3 separate regions of the Homo sapiens genome follow, and regions 1 and 3 are each linked to region 2. Evidence: promoter capture Hi-C in 16 types of primary human blood cells and fetal thymus (Javierre and others, 2016). All regions are on one chromosome and are shown on one strand. The core of a region is centred on a gene start or on the middle of the fragment in contact, and the rest is flanking DNA. Distances in the headings are between cores, read along the strand shown.

Evidence for each region. Contacts are between HindIII fragments. The CHiCAGO score rates a contact against its expected background, and 5 or more counts as called.
Region 1: a contact is called between a fragment that was not itself captured here and the fragment with the promoter of FAM219B in region 2, in 6 of 17 cell types (non-activated CD4 T cells, activated CD4 T cells, neutrophils and 3 more). The highest score is 6.5, in non-activated CD4 T cells.
Region 3: the fragment with the promoter of CYP1A2 here is called in contact with the fragment with the promoter of FAM219B in region 2 in 6 of 17 cell types (fetal thymus, monocytes, erythroblasts and 3 more); the score reaches 9.1 in fetal thymus.

The regions. Positions count from the first base shown.
Region 1 is chr15:74,766,008-74,768,707 of GRCh38, reverse strand. No RefSeq gene overlaps it. Among named protein-coding and RNA genes, the nearest start is that of CSK, 15 kb to the left of the region's middle. RefSeq lists an enhancer at 597-1,374. The HindIII fragment of the contact is 2,992 bases long and covers 1-2,700 here.
Region 2 is chr15:74,905,430-74,908,129 of GRCh38, reverse strand. It overlaps FAM219B (family with sequence similarity 219 member B), which reads left to right and starts at 1,279. Exons shown (of 5, transcript NM_020447.5): 1 at 1,279-1,543; 2 at 1,765-1,852. The coding sequence starts at 1,330. RefSeq lists enhancers at 937-1,216, 1,058-1,862, 1,863-2,669 and a silencer at 1,277-1,576. The HindIII fragment of the contact is 3,941 bases long and covers 201-2,700 here.
Region 3 is chr15:74,747,487-74,750,186 of GRCh38, reverse strand. It overlaps CYP1A2 (cytochrome P450 family 1 subfamily A member 2), which reads right to left and starts at 1,342. Exons shown (of 7, transcript NM_000761.5): 1 at 1,290-1,342; 2 at 1-457. The coding sequence starts at 448. RefSeq lists promoters at 449-1,586, 1,252-2,700 and a cis regulatory region at 2,673-2,700. The HindIII fragment of the contact is 9,803 bases long and covers 1-2,700 here.

The DNA of each region.
Region 1 (2,700 bases), core at 128-2,627, 140 kb after region 2:
GGGGCAAGGAGCACGTGACAGCATGGCTGCTGGGAGGAAGGGAGCCCCGCACATTGTGCACATGTACCCTAAAACTTAAAGTATAAATAAATAAATAAATAAATAAATAAATAAATAAATAAAAGAAAAGCCCCCAGAGGGCGGCCCTGAGCTCACATAGGACAGTTAAGCAGGGGACTTGAGGCACGGTGGTGAGCTGGAGCTCCTCTGTCATCCCCTGGGTGGGAGGAACCTGGTGCTGGCTTGTGTGTAGTGCGTATCTACCCACTTCAGCCTCCCAAAGTGCTGGGATTACAGGCTCATTGCAGAGCTCCTGGCCTTTTCCCCGGGCAGCCACTCGCAGCAGGCCCAGTGACATCCTGGGTGGATGAGGGCAGGGAACCGAGAGCGGCTGGAGGGGAAGGAGATGGGATAGGACCATTTCTGGAAAGAATGGGTGGATTGGTCACTCAGAGAACAGCAGAACCCAGCCCTTCCAGGAACCATCCCCAGAAGCCCCTTCTGGCTCTGGATGGGCTTTTCTAGATGGGGTGCTACAGGGGTGAGCCCGATGTATATGTGGCTGCCAGGACTCCCCACAGTCCCCTGAGTCTGAGCCCCTGTGCATCCGCAGCTTATGCATGTAGCATTATCAGCGCAGGATGCTCACACTGGTTTAGCACAGTGCGCCTGTAGGCACCGGGAAGTTCTGACTCTCCCTTGGAGTGGGGCCTGGAGCCCCTCTCTGGGTGAGGGGATGGCCTCACCTCTCTCTGGGTGAGAAGGCAGCCCCTTCTCAAACTCATCGGGTGCATCCCTGGGGACACAGGGCAGAAAGACCCATGACCCCCTTTGGGCTCCAAGTTGGGGGTGCAGGGCAGAGGCCAGAGAGCTCAGCCAGAGCCTAGCAGACCCCAGGCGGGCAAGGAGGAAATTATACCGAGTCCCACCCACTGCCTGTTTGCCCAGCTGCAGGGGAGCCTGGCAGGAGCCAGGATAGGATTCTGCAGCCCTGGGGCAGCAGGGACTAGGAGGGGACTGGCCTGGCAGAATGAAGGCTGGGTTTTCAGCCTTGCCCGTACACCACCTTCCTGGAAAGAAGACCTTCTTCCCAGGAAAAGAAAAGCCCCCGGAGGGTGGCCCTTTCCTTCCCGTCCTGGTCTTTACAATCTTGCAAAAGGTCCCCAAATGCATACCTGAAATACCTCTGAGTTCATAGAGCCAAAAAGATCTAGGTTTCAGTTCTGGCTCTTCTGCTTTCCTGAAGAAGCCATCTTCCCTCTCTGAACCTCTGTCTCTCCATCTCTAAATTTGGGTTATTTCACAGGTGAGGCTATGCCTTTCCTAAGAGGGGTGATAATTTGCCTTCAAGCACACAGTAACCCCTTTCCTGCCTCAGGACCTTTGCACAGGTTGGTCCCTCTGCCTAGAACTCTTTTTCCTCTTTTTTTTTTTTTTGATTTTTTATTTTTTGAAGCAAAGTATCGCTCTATCTCCCAGGCTGGAGTGCAGTGGTCCGATCTCGATCTTGGCTCACTATAACCTCCGCCTCCCGGGTTCAAGCGATTCTCCTGTCTCAGCTTCCCGAGTAGCTGGGACTACAGGCATCCGCCACCACTCCCGGATAATTTTTGTATTTTTAGTAGAGACAGAGTTTCACCATATTGGCCAGGCTGGTCTCGAACTCCTGACCTTGTGATCCGCCCGCCTCAGCCTCCCAAAGTGCTGGGATTACAGGCGTGACCCACCGCGCCCACCCTCCTCTTTTCTTTTCTTTTCTTTTTTCAGATGGAGTCTCGCTCCTTCGCCTGGGCTGGAGTGCAATGGCACAATCTTGGCTCACTGCAGCCTCCGCCTCCTGGGTTCAAACAATTCTCCTGCCTCAGCCTCCCGAGTAGCTGAGATTACAGGCATTCACCACTATGTCTGGCTAATTTTGTGCTTTTAGTAGAGACGGGGTTTCTCCATGTTGAGGCTGGTCTCGAACTCCTGACCTCAGGTGATCCACCCGCCTCAGCCTCCCAAAGTGCTGGGATTACAGGCGTGAGCCACCGCGCCCGGCATACCTGGCTATTTTTTTTTTTTTTGAGATGGAGTCTCGCTCTGTTGCCCAGGCTGGAGCGCAGTGGCATGATCTGGGCTTACTGCAACCTCTGCCTCCCAATGCCCAGCTAATTTTTGTAGTTTTAATAGAGACAGAGTTTCACCATGTTGGCCAGGCTGGTCTTGAACTCTTGACCTCAGATGATCCTCCTGCCTCAGCCCCCCAAAGTGCTGAGATTACAGGTGTGAGCCACTGTGCCCAGCCAACCTTTTTTTTTTTTTTTTAATGGGCTCTCGTTCTGTTGCCCAGGCTGGAGTGCAGTGGAGCCATCTCAACTCACTGCAACCTCTACCTCCCAGGCTCAAGCAATCCTCCCACCTCAGCCTCCCGAGTAGCTGGGGTTACAGGCACCCGCCACCATGCCCGGCTAATTTTTATATTTTTAGTAGAGATGGGGTTTTCACCATGTTGGCCAGGCTGGTCCTGAACTCCTGACCTGAAGTGATCCACCCACCTCAGACTCCCAAAGTGCTGGAATTACAGAAGTGAGCCAACGTGCCCAGCCTCCATCTTAACCATTTTTAAGTACACAGTTTAGTGGTATTAAATGCACTCATAATGTTGTGCAGCCATCACCACTGTCCATCTCCAGAGCCCTTTCCATCTTGTAAACCTGA
Region 2 (2,700 bases), core at 30-2,529:
ATGGGGTTTCACCATGTTGGCCAAGCTGGTCTTGAACTCCCTACCTCGGGTGATCCGCCTGCCTCAGCCTCCCAAAGTGCTGGGATTACAGATGTGAGCCACTGTGCCCGGCCAGAAAACTACTTCTTTGGAGTCCACAGGCAACTGGGTACAAATTCCAGGTTTATCACTTAACTGGTAAACTTGACCAAGTCTAAGCTTCATTTGTTTAACAAGAATAACTATTGGCTTCATTGGGAGGTTATAACCATTAAATACTAAGTTGAGCTATATGAACCTGCTGTTTCTGGAGGCAAAAACAGTCTAACATCATGGGGAGTGGGGGGAATCTACCAAAATGGTAAGGATTCCTTTGTGCTTTTGATTTTTGAAAACTTCAGCCCTAAATTCTTCCTTTTCACCTCTCTTGCCCAAGGCATAGTGCCACCCAACGGTCTGCGTGGCCCTGGGAGCTCGGAGGTTGCACACTGTTGACCTACCCTATTGAAGCCAGTAAGTTAGTCAAGGGACAGCCTCATGAGATTTGGGAGTTCTACAAGGATCTGGAGTTTCTTTCCAGCCAGTCACAAGCACATCCCTTGGGGGCTAGAGAAGTCAAGAGCCCTGACACATAGCCTACCACACACAGACTCAGAGTGCACTTTCACCCTCCTTTTCAACGCCTATTTGCCTCACTGTACAATGAGTAGTGACATTGGCTCTATTTTTAAATGTGGAAACTGAGGCCTAGAGAGGGTCAGGTCCTGTCCAATGTCACAGGCACCAATTGGTGTTGGAAAGAAGGTGGGGTTTGGCGTCAGATGGATCAGCGCAAGCACTGCCTCTAGATGTGTCACCTTCACAAGGTTCTTTAACTTCTGGGGCCTGTTTCTTTTGCTAGAAAAGGTCGCTGATAACGCTTGTCCTCATATGACTCTTCAACCCAAGTCTGCTCTCTGGCAGCCCCACATGTGGGGAGACCCCCAAGGAGACACTGCGAGAAGCACAGAGTGCGGCGCGCCAGGACTCAAACCGTGGGCACCCGACCGACGCACACGCGCAGCCCCACGACAGTATCAGTATTTAATTTCCACTAGAGACAGAACTAAGCCTAACCATCACCAGGCTCAAGCCGCCTACCCCAAAACCGAGAACGGAACTGCCCGGTCCCCCCGAAAAGAAGGGCGGAACATTTCGGCCAAGTCCTCAGACTACCGAACCGGAGAGCTCCGAAAGGGGACTACCTGCGCCTGCGCACCGCCATCTTGTTAAAAGAGCCCGCCTCTCCCTCGGCCGGTCACTCTTTCGCCACGGGCGGGGTTGCACCATCCGGCAGGGCGGGGCCCGGCCATGGCGACCGCGGAGCCCAGCGGGCGCGCGTTGCGGTTGTCTACCCCGGGACCCCGGCCCAGCGGGGCTCGGGACCGCGCGCCGGGAGCTGCGGGGCCACCCTCCGGGCAGATCGGTAATAGAGCCCTCCGTCTGGGGGAGCGCACCCCCGCGGCCGTGGAAAAGCGGGGGCCATACATGGTGACGCGCGCACCCTCCATTCAAGCCAAGCTGCGTGAGTGTGGCCCGATGGTCGGGGGAGGTTTCTCCCTGGGCGGGCGGCCGCGTCCCCAGGGCGGGTTCCGGAGCTCCGCTGGGCCTCGGCCCCGGAGGGAAGGGGTTAGCTGCAGCCTGCTCTCGCCCCTCAAAATCCGTTCGGAAAGAGCGGCCTCCCAGCCTTCGGGAGACGCGGCGGAGTGGGGAAGACCCGGCTGACCCGGGTCCTTTAACTTCCAGAGAAGCACCGGGACCTGGCCAAGGCCGTTCTGCGGAGAAAAGGCATGCTGGGGGCCTCGCCGAACCGCCCAGACTCTTCAGGGAAAAGGTCTCAGCAGGCGCCACCTCCTCTGTGCCAGCAGCTTTAGAGAAGGCTTTAATCCCCAGGACGGAGGCAGGGTGCTCTGGTTTAAGGCCGAGCTAGCGATTCCCCTGATGCAACCTGTCAGGTTCACTATCTTTAAAATGGGAAGAGGAACAATCTCTCTTTTCCTTTAAGGATGTGATAGGATCAGATAAAGGGCTTCGGAATAAGGGAGTTCTGTGAGTGCACAGGCTCATTCACTATCATTCTCCTCCTCTGTTAGGGAGGAGAATGGTGGCTGGAGTCCCCAGCAATGAGGACGAAGAGCAGTGTGGGAATGGCTAGACCTGTTTTTGTTTGTTTGTTTTTAACAGAATAGTAAACTCGGAGCTGCATAGAACCTTATTCAGTGCCTCCTTTTACAGATGAGGGTTGAAACTCGGAGAAGTGAAGGTTAACCCTAACCTTTTACCCAAAGACTTGCAGTTTTTGTGTCCTCTGATTAAATAAGTGGGGAGAGGGTGCTTTTCCTAGATCAGGCAAGGGGAGGTGTGCTTTTTTCCAAGACCTATGGGAGGAGTAGAATACAGGCCGGGCGTGGTGGCTCACGACTGTAATTCCAGCACTTTGGGAAGCCGAGGCGGGTGGATCACTTGAAGTCAGGAGTTCGAGACCAGCCTGGCCAACATGGTGAAAGCCCGTCTCTATTAAAAATACAAAATTAGCTGGGCACGCCTGTAGTCCCAGCTACTCAAGAGGCTGAGGCAGGAAAATCACTTGAGCATGGTAGGCGGAGATTGCAGTGAGCCGAGATCGCGCCACTGCACTGCAGCCTGGGTGACAGGGCCAGACTCTGTCTCCAAAAAAAGAAA
Region 3 (2,700 bases), core at 93-2,592, 160 kb after region 2:
CGATGGAGAAGGTGTTGAGGGCATTCTGGGCCAGGCGCCGGCGGGCAGCCCACACCGGTCCAGAGTCTGTGCTGAAGGTCAAGCTCTGGCCATCAGTGATGAGGGTGGAGGTGTAGAGGTCAGGCCGGCCCTTGAAATCGTCGCCCTGCCGCACCAGGGCCTGCCGGATGGTGTCCAGGCGGCTCAGCACCAGCACGGGCGTGGAGCCAATGCGGATCTGCAGGACGTCCCCGTAGCGCTGGCTCATCCTTGACAGTGCCAGGTGCGGGTTCTTCCCCAGGGTCAGCACATGCCCGAGCAAGGGCCAGCCCCATGGCTCTGGTGGACTTTTCAGGCCTTTGGGGACCCGAGGCCTCAAACCCTTGAGCACCCAGAATACCAGGCAGAAGATGGCAGAGGCCAGGAGAAGCTCTGTGGCCGAGAAGGGAACAGACTGGGACAATGCCATCTGTACCAACTGCAGGGAAAAAAGGAGGGACCAGGCTGAGGGTTGAGATGGAGACATTCATTCATTCATTTCCTCAGTCATTTGATAAACACTGATGCGTGTTCTGTGCTTGGCTCCCAGCTGGATACCAGAAAGACTAAGCTCCATCTACCATGCGTCCTGGGCCCACAGAGCTCACCCTTTGAGCATCACAGAATCTGAGAGCTGGAAAGGAGCCTCAAGATTCCCAACATGAACGCTGGCTCTCTCCTCCACACATCATCTCAGTTTCCACTTCTGGGGCTGGAGTAGAGGCAAGTGACCACTCCAAAATGGGGAAGCCAAGGACAGCACCCTTGTCAGCCCCTGGCACAGCATGCATGCTGGGTATTGTACCAAAGAGTCCCTGCCAGTGCTGGCTTTCTGCTGATACCTTCCATATACCCAAGGGACCAGGAGTTCCCCCTACCCAGTGACACTGAGGTGGCCAAGGTCCCAGGGCTGGTTCAAATAGCCTGTGATGCCCCCTCCCCAGGGCATTCTTTATCAATACCAGGAGGGGCACCTCCTCCAGGGATGAGTCCCCATCCTCTCACAGTCTTGGAGGTTGGGGTTGGGCTTCAGCCAGGGCCAGGGCTGCCCTTGTGCTAAGGGGGAAGCCCTCCCCATCGCTCTCCTTAAAAATGGCTTAGTCCAAACTGCTCATTTAAAATCGGGAAACAGAAGTCAAGAGCTGGGTAGCAAAGCCCGGAACTCAGGACCCCTACACCTAGCCCAGGCTCCCCGTCTTTCTGTCCCCACTAGCTTCCAGGTTCTATAGTTGGGGATCCCAGAGATTGTAAATTGGTCCCAAGAAAGGTACCTGTAGAGGCAGGTGCTTGAGATTGGCAGGGTTGTAATGGCTGGTGTGGAGCTTCTGGCTCTAGGTGAGTGGCCTTTTTATAAACACCGCCCCCTATCAGATTGGCCTGGTTGTCCTGATCACCTGATATGAAAGCTGGATCACTGAACAAAGTTGGAAGGATCAACTCTTGGCCTTGGGCCATTATCCCTCAGCTCCACCTACTACCTAAGACCCAGGGTGACTCTTTGGGGATAGGCCAGAAGGGGTGCTGGGTCCCTGGGGATGAAGGTACAGCTGTCTTTAGGGTTCAGGGTAGGGAGCCTATTTCTCTGAAGAGTAGGGTAGGGTCTGGGAGTGGGGGTTAGGCCTTTGGACTGATCTGGGCTTCTTTCCCACTGCACACATGAGGAAGAGCTCTGCCAGGGCACTCAGTCTAGGCCAACCAGGCTCACGGCCCCTCTCCAGAGGGATGTTCTTCTGTAGTACCCTCCAACAACCTGCAAAACCAAACAGTAAATGGGCGTGTTCCAGCCACTCCTGATTTTCAGCCCAAGTCCCCAAGTGGAAAAGAAGAGATGATAAAGATTTTGCATCCTAAAGAGAGGCCCCCCTTATGCAAAAAGACTAAGAGACATAACCAAATGCAATATGGATTTGCATTTGATTGCCATATCGATTGGATATGGCATTTAAACAAAATTTTAAAAAAATCTATAAAAGATGTTTTGGGGACAATTGGGGACATGTAAGCACGGACTGGAGATTAGATGATATTCTGGAATAAATGTAAATTTTTTTAGGTGTGAACAGAGTGTCATGGTATGTGGGAGTGTATCCTTATTCTTAGGAGATTAATGCTGTAGCATGGAAGTGTCATGATCCCCACAACCTCCTTTTGAATGGTTCTGTTAAAAAATGTACACCTCTAGGCCAGGCGCGATGGCTCGCACCTGTAATCCCAGCACTTTGAGAGGCCGAGATGGGCGGATCACCTGAGATCAGGTGTTCAAGACCAGCCTGGCCAACCTGGTGAAACTCCGTCTCTACTAAAAATACAAAAATTAGCCAGGCATGGTGGCATGTGCCTGTGATCCCAGCTACTCGGGAGGCTGAGGCAGGAGAATGGCTTGAACTTGGGAGGTGGAGGCTGCAGTGAGCCAAGATCGTGCCACTCCACTCCAGCCTGGGCGACAGAGTGAGACTCCGTCTCAAAAAAAAAAAAAATGTACACCTTTAAAGAGTGTAATTGGATTGTTTGTAACTCAAAGGTTTATCCTTGCTTGAGGGGATGGATACTCCATTCTCCATGAATGCTTATTTCATATTGCATGCCTGTATCAAAACATTTCATGTACCCCATACATATATACACCTACTATGTACCCATAAAATTAAAACAATGTATACCTATCTATCAATAAATCGAGAG